Regions from separate parts of the Homo sapiens genome. Here regions 1 and 3 are each linked to region 2. Evidence: promoter capture Hi-C in human tissues and cell types (Jung and others, 2019). All regions are on one chromosome and are shown on one strand. The core of a region is centred on a gene start or on the middle of the fragment in contact, and the rest is flanking DNA. Distances in the headings are between cores, read along the strand shown.

Region 1 (3,487 bases), core at 593-3,092, 400 kb before region 2:
GGGACCTTGGGCAAGTTACTCAAACCCTTTGGCTTCATTTATTTAAAAACAAAAACAAAAAAGACGCAGTTCTCTGCTTCTTTGTGCATATTTAAACTCATGGTTTATCCCATGAGTTTTATATTTTTGAGCCCTCGAAATTACTCCTTTGCATTTTATGTCAGTGAAGCCAAAGAGACAGATACTCTCAACAACACAAATATTTTGTATTAAAAACTATTTAGATTGTTAGAATGGTTCCGAGGCTACTTGTAGATATTATTCTTCTAATATGATAAGTTGTAAGTAATATATTATCCAAAACAGCTCTTTTTCTTTTAGTGAAAGCCTGCTCTTCATTATGACATTAATTATTAAGAGAGGCTCGGCCGAGCATGGTGGCTAACGCCTGTAATACCAGCACTTTGGGAGGCCGAGGTGGGTGACTCACAAGGTCAGGAGATCGAGACCATCCTGACTAACACGGTGAAACCCCGTCTCTACTAAAAAATACAAAAAATTAGCTGGGCGTGGTGGCAGGCACCTGTAGTCCCAGCTACTCGGGAGGCTGAGGCAGGAGAATGGCGTGAACCCAGGAGGCAGAGGTTGCAGTGAGCCAAGACTGCGCCACTGCACTCCAGCCTGGGCGACAGAGTGAGACTCCATCTCAAAAACAAAACAAAACAAAAAAAAGAGGCTCCAGCCCGGTGACATGGCAAAACCCTGTCTCAAAAATATAAAACTGAGGCTGGACGTGGTGGCTCACGCCTGTAATCCCAACACTTTGGGAGGCCAAGGTGGGCAGATCACCTGAAGTCCGGAGTTCGAGACCAGCCTGGCCAACGTGGTGAAACCCCATCTCTATGAAAAATACAAAAATTAGCCAGGCATGGTCGTGCATGCCTGTAGTCCCAGCAACTCGGGAGGCTGAGGCAGGAGAATTGCTTGAACCCAGGAGGCGGAGGTTGCAGTGAACCAGGATTGTGCCTCTGCGCTCCAACCTGGGTGAACAGAGAGAGACTCTGTCTCAGGAAAGATAAATAAATAAATGAAATAAAAAATAGAAAGATTAGCCAGGCATGGTGGTGGGTTCCTGTAATCCCAACTACTCAGGTGGCTGAGGCAGGAGAATCTCTTGAACCCAGGTTGCAGAACCCAGGAGCTGAGATTGTGCTGCTGCACTCCAGCCTAGGCAACAGAGTGCTATTAAAACAAAAGAAAACATTGACCGGGTGCAGTGGCTCACTCCTGTAATCCCAGCACTTTGGGAGGCCGAGGCAGGCAGATTGCCCAAGTCCAGGAGCTCAAGACCAGCCTGGGCAACATGGTGAGTGAGAGCCCATCTCTACAAAAAATATAAAAATTAACTGGAAGTAATCTGTGGTCCCATTTACTCAGGAGGCTGAGGCAGGAGGATCACTTGAGCCTGGGAGGTCAAGGCTGCAGTAAGCCAAGATTGCGCCACTGACCTCCAGCCTGGGTAACAGTAAGACCTTGTCTTAAAAAAAAAAAAAAAAAAAAAAAAAGAGGCTGCTATTTTTATATTTTTGTTTTATGTGAATTGGTCCCCAGGAGTAAAAGCTTAGTAATCTGTTCTTTCTTGTAAGACTTCTTACATAACAGCACAGAATGTTCAGTGAATCTTCATTAAAATGTCACGTCCTAAATACAGAAATACATTGTAAGGTAGGGAGGCCATGACAGCAAGACATAAAGCTATTTAATCTGAATTGGCCGGGTGCAGTGGCTCACACCTGTAATCCCAGCACTTCGGGAGGCCGAGGCAGGCAGATCATTTGAGGTCAGGACTTTGAGACCAGCAACATGGTGAATCCCTGTCTCTACTAAAAATTAAAAAAAAAAATTCTCCGGGCATGGTGGCGCACACCTGTAATCTTAGCTGCTCCGGAGGCTGAGGCAGGGGAATCGCTTGAACTTGGGAGGCGGAGGTTGCGGTGAGCTGAGATCACGCCACTGCACTCCAGCCTGGGTGACAGAGCAAGACTCTGTCTCAAAAAAAAGTAAATAAAAATAAAAAATAAATAAATGCCTGTAATCCCAGCACTTTGGGAGGCCGAGGTGGGCAGATCACGAGGTCAGGAGATCGAGACCATCCTGGCTAACACGGTGAAACCCCGTCTCTACTAAAAATACAAAAAAATTAGCCGGGCGTGGTGGTGGGCACCCATAGTTCCAGCTACTCGGGAGGCTGAGGCAGGAGAATGGTATGAATCCAAGAGGCGGAGCTTGCAGTGAGTCAAGATCGAGCCACTGCACTCTAGGCTGGGCGACAGAGCGAGACTCCGTCTCAAAAAAAATAAAAATAAAAAAAAATAAATAAATAAATCTGAATTGGCTTTTAAACAATATATTACGCCAAAGTTGTGATCAGACAAACTTGATCTAATGTCTTAGATGAGATGAAAAGATCCTCTAGATGTGGAACAAAGAACGTTCTTCAATCTTTTGTTAACTTTGAGCTGTTAAAAATAAGGGGAAAAGCCAGGCGTGGTGGTGCGGTGGCTCATGCCTGTAATCCCAGCAACTCAAGAGGCTGAGGTGGGAGGATCTATTGAGCCCAGGATTTTCAGGCTGTAGTGAGTTACGATTATGCCACTGCACTGTAGCCCCTGGGTGACAGAGTGAGACCCTCATTAAAAAATAATCATAAGAGGAAGAGACATTTTACTTTTAATTTTCAGTTTGTTGACTTTTCCCTTATTTCTTCATGATGGGCCTTTTTTTTTTTGAGACAGGGTTTCACTCTGTTGGCCAGGCTGGAGCGCAGTGGCACAATCTCGGCTCACTGCATCCTTTACCTCCTGGGCTCAAACGATCCTCCCACCTCAGCCTCTTGAGTAGCTGGGACCACAGGCATGCACCACCACACTCAACTAATTTTTGTATGTTTTTGTAGAGGTGCAATTTTGCCATGCTGCCCAGGCTGGTCACAAAATCCTGGGCTCAAGTGATTGCCTGCCTCTGCCTCCCAGAGTGCTAAGGTTACAGGCGTGAGCCACCACACCCAGCCATGATGGTACTTTTGAAATTTCCATTTTACTTACTTGGCTTAGAGCCCTAAAGGTCTGTTTACTGAGAACTAAAATTCTTAGTGTTTTCGTTATGACTCTTGTTTTTGTTTTTGCTTATTTAATCAGTTACTGCTATTAGAGGCTCTGTTTTTAGAAGTGCAGGTAAGTAACCTGTTGAGAATTCCTATCAGTTGTCACTTGAGACCTCTCTGATCACTGGATGACCCTTCTGTTTGAAGAACTGTGTAATTGTAAGGCACATCTTTTGACATGGCATGAAAACAGATTACAAAACTTGTATAGTATGAATAGAAAGTGAGAGCAGAGGTGACTCCAAGATTAAGAATAAAGAACATAAGAAATTATGTTCCTTGTCTCCAGGTAACTCAAGTTTGGAGGTGGGAGTTTAATAACGTTTTTTGAAGGTTTTTTTTTTTTGGTGTAAATTTTTAATGTAAGTGAAAGACTAGGAAGAG
Region 2 (3,372 bases), core at 566-3,065:
AGAAAAAGAAAGTGATAAATACTATGGGGCTGGGCGCGATGGCTCACGCCTGTAATCCCAGCACTTTGGGAGGCCAAGATGGGTGGATCACAAGGTCAGGAGATTGAGACCATCCTGGGTAACACGGTGAAACCCCGTCTCTACTAAAAATACAAAAAATTAGCCGAGCGTGGTGGCACGCGCCTGTAGTCCCAGCTACTCGGGAGGCTGAGGCAGGAGAATCACTTGAACCCGGGAGGCGGAGGTTGCAGTGAGCCTAGATCACACCACCGCACTCCAGCCTGGGCGACAGAGCAAGACTCCATCAAAAAAAATAAAAAATAAAAGAAATGCTATGGAAGAAGTAATAGAATATGCTATGGGAGAGTTTGGAAGAGAAATACACATAGAGTTATACTAATAACCAAAATCCTTTATTGACCATTTATCATGTGCTTGGCACAATTAGCTTAATCCTGAGTCTTAATTGTCAGGATCTTACATTATAAGATAGACAAAAATTCAACGCATGCTTTACTAAGTACCGTTTGTATCAGTGGGTAAAGCACTGTGTTTGGTACTCTCTCAAATGCAAAGATGATTACGACACATGTACTATCGTTTATGAATGGGTGGCCAACAGAACAGATTGCCGCATAGGTAAGCAGAAATCTGCTCTCATTCTCTATTGGCCACAAGCAGGCATGTCTTAGGAGCAGAAGGGTAGGAAGATCTCTAACTGTGCTTGGAAACTTGGGGAGTTACCACGTCTGGCTAAAGTGGTATTGTCTTAAGGAAAACCTATGAATTTGCCTGCGTTGGCTTGGTGCTGAGGAAAGTGGAAGAGAGAGGCTGGGGTACACCTTTCAACATGAATGGAACTGACCACTGGAGGGAAAGAACAAGAAACAGCAGTGAGAACAAGGAACAAAGACCATCCAGCCCCTCACCCACCTGGGGGGAAGTGAGGGGAGATGGGCAGGGTGACAACGTGGCCAACATCTAAAGTGTGAAGAGGGGCTTTTACCAAGTGCCCACCCCTTCCCGAGCAGGGGGCAACCAACAGCATCTGGCGGGTCTTACTACTGGGCAGAGGCAGGGGAACCCTGGTATGAGTTCTGGATTACATAGGAGATGTGACTTGGACACGTTTGGGGCTTAAAAGTAGGAAGGGATCAAGGGGGGAGATTTGAAAATCCCGGTGGAGGTGCGAGGTATCCGGGGAGAGGGTAAAAACGGGAACAGTCTTCAGCACCTGCCTGTACCAGGAGCTCTGTGTATGCCATCTCATTTCCGTCTCCAGCAACCAGGCGGGCCTTGGCGGCAGGAGGCACAGGCTTTGGGAGCAGAGGCCCTGCAGCTTGCCAAGCACACACGGCCCTAGGGCGCCCAGCTGAGACGGCACCTTGGCACCCGGGCCCGCTGCAGCCCGCTCCGGTCAGCTGCACCCCAGTCAGGAGCCTTTCCAGCGGGTCGGAGGAGAACGGAAGTTTGGGGAGACCCGCGCGATTCGCCTGGCTGCATTTTACATTTCTTTCTCCGGCAGCTGGGGTCACGAAGGCTGCTCTCGCCGGCGGTGTTGGAACGTGGACACGTGCGCTTTGGTAATAGGGCAGCCTCCCCCGCGGGCGCAGTCCCCGCTGCGAGCGCCCCCGGCTGCTGAGGCGGGACCGAGGACCCGGAGATTTGAGCCGCGGGTGGGCGGGGAGGGGCCTTTGTGACCTGCCCGCCCCTCCCCGGCACTGTGATGCCGGGGGGCAGCTGCGGGCCCGGCGCGCCTGTCCCCGGCGTCCCCCCCTCCCGGTGTGTCACAACGGCGGAGGCGGCTGTATCTGGAGCAGTCGGGGCGGGCAGGCCCAGCTGAGAGGTGCGCGGGCGAGGACAGCGGCAGCGATGGTGAGGCTTCCCGGGGCCAGGCGGGCTGCGGGCGCGCGGCAGGCGTAGGACCGAGAGCCGAGTCTACGCGGAGGCGCACGGACCCGTCTTCCTGGAGCCGCAGGGCTCAAGGCCTTCTGGGGGTGGCAGTTCAGGGTCGAGGAGTCCGCACCCTCGGGCGGGAACACCCGGTGCCCTTTATCGTATGGGGGAAATAGAGACCAGGGGCCAGTTGTTCCTTAAAGGGACCTAAGGGAGCTTTGCGTGCAGACGAGGGGGAGGGAGGCCCTGGGGAGCCCGACGGAGAAGGGGGCGAGATTCTGGGGTCCCCAGATGGGCAGCCTGTGGACAGAGTGGAGAGAAGGGCGAGTCCGGGGATTCTGGATGGGTGGTCTGGGCCGGGGCGACTGGGGGGCCAGATGCAGTCACGTCTCCGAACCCAGCCTAATGTGACAGGGCCCGGAATGTGACAGAGGACCTAGGGCGCCACGGTCCCCCCACGCGTGGAGGTCTTTCTCGCAAGCCTGGCCAGCGGCTTGGGTTTGCTGCACGCACAGCCCCAGCGCGGCGGGGTCCTCCGGGCGCACTCAGCAGCTCCCAAGTCTTTCCAGCGGTCAGAGTCGAAGGACTTTGGGAGTAAGAAGTCTCTGCTTCCAAAGGCCAGGGGACCTTCGACCTGTTTCCTACCCTGGCTTAGGGGGATCGCGGCTGCTCCCTTCCCTGCCCCCGCCCCTGGATCTTACTGAGGGGCGGCTGCAAACACTCAGTTCCTCTTTCTAGGGTCCCCCTCTCCGCCCCCAGTGCCCCTGGTGGTTAACATTTGCCCCCAGTCCACTTTCCCAAAGCCCAGAATCCCAGGAATCCCTCCTGGACCCCTGATCTTTCAGCAGTAGGGAGATGGGCTGGAAAGATTGGGGGCAGAGTGAGGGCAGAATAAGCCTATGTCATGGCCAAGGTCGGGTTCCCTGGGCAGGCTTGCTCCAGGTGTCAGTGATCCAGAAAGCAGGCGAGAACCCCCTCCGCCCCGCCCTGTTACGTTTGGCCCGTGCCCAGGGCCTCCTGGCTCCCCCGGAGCTCTAGCCTTCCAGCTTCAGTTTTGTCAGCACCCTCCCTCCTCCTAGCGGGCTCCCAGACACCCCTGGGAACTGAAAGAACTTGGGAATATTAGGGAGGGTGGCCACAGGAACCTATTTCTGCCTGAGGACCCTGGTATGAGGCCACACAAAGGGCCCGGAGCTGCCAGTTCAGAATTTTGACTCCTGGCTCTGCAGCTAGCTGTGTGACTTCAGGAAGGTCACTTAACCTCTCTGGATGTGTTTGTTTTACCTGCGAAATGAAGAGGGTTATAATTCAAATTTCCAAGACTCCACTTAGATTTCATTATTTTTAAACTTTTTATGGTAGGGAATTTCAAACATATGCAAACGGAGAGCAAATGGTATAATTAGCGATTATATACATCATCTAAGTTCAATAATTACCAACTTCTGACCTGTCTCACTTCATTTATTCCCTCCC
Region 3 (3,075 bases), core at 254-2,753, 470 kb before region 2:
CCCCGCCGCTGAGCAGGCTTCTTCCGGCGTGGGGTGCCGGAGGCGGAGGAGCTCGGCCCTGGCTCCACGCCGCTGTCCTTCCCCACAGACAGCTTCACGTGGAAAACCCGGGTCCATTTTTAGGGCTAAACTGGGGAACGGCGACTTCTTTTTGGTTGAGGGAAAGGTTTTCCTGCGATTCACTTAGAACACTGGAAGATTAGCTTTGCCAGTCTTAGTCGTTTCTTCTCAGAGATTGTTAGAAGTCTTGTTTCTTAACCTTAATTCACTGCTGTTCTGACACCTATTTTTTCAGAAAAAAACTGCCTTCTTGCCCTTGGAGGCAGTACAGTTCACACGGAGTCATTTTCCCCCTTTGATTTATCCTCCCAACATTCTGTAAAGATCCTATTTCTTGCCTTCATAACCGACTTTCTGAGTGGAGGCTCTAACCTAGCGTTGAAAATCGGACGGATCTGGCCAGTTGTTCACATGCTGTTGACTGCTGGCTTTGGTTAGCTCTTAGCCACTCCCTGCACAAGTGTTTGTTTATTCAAAATAGCTATCTCACTGTCTCTGTTTAGAAGTTTGAACTAAGCTGAGAGCCCTCCCTCCTTACTTTTATTTTTTTGTTGTTGTTGCGTAAAACAAAACAAAAACTTCTTTGGCGAAATTATAAGATTTCCTCTGGAGGTTTAGTATAAAGCAGAATGTTGCTCTCTGCCCTGACTAGTGTGACCTTGGATGAGTTGCCACACCCTTCAGATACCTTCTTTCTTTTTTTTTTTTTTTGAGACAGAGTTTCCCTCTTGTTGCCTAGGCTGGAGTGCAATGGCGCGATCTCAGCTTACCGCAACCTCCGCCTCCTGGGTTCAAGCCATTCTCCTGCCTCAGCCTCCCGAGTAGCTGGGATTACAGGCATGCGCCACCACGCGGGGCTAATTTTGTATTTTTAGTAGAGACGGGGTTTCATCATGTTGGTCAGGATGGTCTCGAACTCCCAATCTCTGGTCATCCCCCCGCCTCAGCCTCCCAAAGTGTTGGGATTACAGGCGTGAGCCACCGCGCACGGTGATACCTTTTTTTCAACCACCCCCGCGCCACCGCATGAAGTATTATTTTCATTTTTAACACCCTCTCTCCCCCAAGTGAAGTATTCTTCATTTGGTAATAGGCAGTTAAGGGTATTGAAAATCTTTTTACTAGGAATGGTCAGGTACTGTTCTGTATTTTTTTTCCAATGGCTCATTTTTTATGTGGAAGAGTATATTCAGTAGTTGGATTCACTTTTTATTTTATTTTTAGTTGTCTCCTACAGCAAGGACCAGTAGTTGAATTCAATTGAAAGATGCCTAAGGCTATATCTAACCAGTCTTGTAAAAAAACAGACTTGTGTTTACTAGCACATAATCTAATCAACATGTATTAAATATCACACACATTAAGCTTTTAGGACAAGTGGTTTGCAACAGTAATAATCATTAACAACATTTCATTTGGCTGTTTGCGATGGCTCACTGTAATCCCAGCACTTTGGGAGGCTCAGGCAGGAGCATTGCTTGAGCCCGGGAGTTCGAGACCAGCCTGGGCAACATAAGGAGACCTTGTCTTCACAAAAAATTAAAAAAAAAAAAAATTAGCCAGGCATAGGTCCCAGCTACTTGGAAGACTGAGGCGAGAGGGAGGACTGCTTGAGCCCGGGAGATCAAGGCTGCTGTGAGCTGTGATTGCTCCACTGTACTTCAGTCTGGATGACAGAGACCCTGACTCAAAAAATATATATATGTTTGTTTATTAATTTTTTATATATATATATATATTTTTTTTTTGAGGCGGAGTGTCGCTCTGTCGCCCAGGCTGGAGTGCAATGACACGATCTCGGCTCACTGCAAGCTCTGCCTCCTGAGTTCACACCATTCTCCTGCCTCAGCCTCCCGAGTAGCTGGGACTACAGGTGCCCGCCACCGCGACAGGCTAATTTTTTGTATTTTTAGTAGAGACGGGGTTTCACCGTGTTAGCCAGGATGGTCTCGATCTCCTGACCTCGCGATCTGCCCGCCTCGGCCTCCCAAAGTGCTGGGATTACAGGCATGAGCCACTGCGCCCGGCCTAAATAGATATGTATTTTATTGTGAAATACTTCAGGCATACAAAACACAAGTGTTAAACATTCACTTAGTTCCAGTCTGCATTTATCATTTTTTAGACAGGATTTTGATTTGTATCTTATTCCAAATAAATGTTCACCAAGAGTTCTTGTTTAATATATATACAAAGTGGGGGTGGGTGGTATTTTCAGATTGGTTTATTTTTTTTTCTTGTTCTTCCTCAGACGGTAATGTGCCAATAAGCCCATGAGGCAACATGATTTGAGGGAGGCACATGTCATGCATTAGCATGAAACCCAGTCATCTTGGTTCTTTATGAACCGCAAAAGGATTGGAGTAGCTGATTTTTTTTAACAACTTTATTGACATATAATTAACGTACCATACAACTCACCATTGTACAATTCAGTACTTTTTAGTATATTCACAGAGTTGTGCACCCACCACCACAATCATTTTCATCACCTCAAAAAGAGACTCCCATACCCATTAGCAGTCATTCTTTATTACTGGTCCTCCTACCCCCACCCTTGGGCAACCACTGATCTACTTTCTGTCTATGGATTTGCCTATTCTGGAGATTTCACAAAAATGGGATCACATAATATGTGTTTTTTTTTTTTTTTTTTTGAGAATGAGTCTCACTCTGTCGCCCAGGCTGGAGTGCAGTGGTGCCATCTCGACTCACTGCAAGCTCCGCCTCCCGGGTTGACGCCATTCTCTTGCCTCAGCCTCCTGAGTAGCTGGGACTACAGGCGCCCGCCACCACGCCCGGCTGATTTTTTGTATTTTTAGTAAAGACGGGGTTTCACTGTGTTAGCCAGGATGGTCTCCATCTCCTGACCTTATTATCTGCCCATGTCGGCCTCCCAAAGTGCTGGGATTACAGGTGTGTGCCACCGCGCCTGACCAATATGTGGTCTTTTGTGTCTGGCTTCTCTCTTTTTTTTTTTTTTTTTTTTTGAGACGGAGTCTCACTGTCGCCAGG

What was found. The method cuts DNA at HindIII sites, captures the fragments that hold promoters and counts their contacts. A contact is called where the count stands out against the background at its distance.
Region 1: a contact is called between a fragment that was not itself captured here and the fragment with the promoter of TUBA8 in region 2, in 1 of the 25 tissues and cell types used here (dorsolateral prefrontal cortex).
Region 3: a contact is called between a fragment that was not itself captured here and the fragment with the promoter of TUBA8 in region 2, in 1 of the 25 tissues and cell types used here (dorsolateral prefrontal cortex).

The regions. Positions count from the first base shown.
Region 1 is chr22:17,708,588-17,712,074 of GRCh38, forward strand. The region is part of intron 6 of BCL2L13 (BCL2 like 13); the gene reads left to right. Among named protein-coding and RNA genes, the nearest start is that of MIR3198-1, 54 kb to the right of the region's middle. The HindIII fragment of the contact is 6,813 bases long and covers 1-3,487 here.
Region 2 is chr22:18,108,994-18,112,365 of GRCh38, forward strand. TUBA8 (tubulin alpha 8) reads left to right here and starts at 1,816. Exons shown (of 5, transcript NM_018943.3): 1 at 1,816-1,875. The coding sequence starts at 1,873. RefSeq lists an enhancer at 1,313-1,512 and a silencer at 1,593-1,982. The HindIII fragment of the contact is 17,974 bases long and covers 1-3,372 here.
Region 3 is chr22:17,639,101-17,642,175 of GRCh38, forward strand. All of the region lies in intron 1 of BCL2L13 (BCL2 like 13), which reads left to right. It also overlaps the pseudogene LOC124905160. Among named protein-coding and RNA genes, the nearest start is that of BCL2L13, 1.9 kb to the left of the region's middle. RefSeq lists an enhancer at 1-539. The HindIII fragment of the contact is 6,703 bases long and covers 1-3,075 here.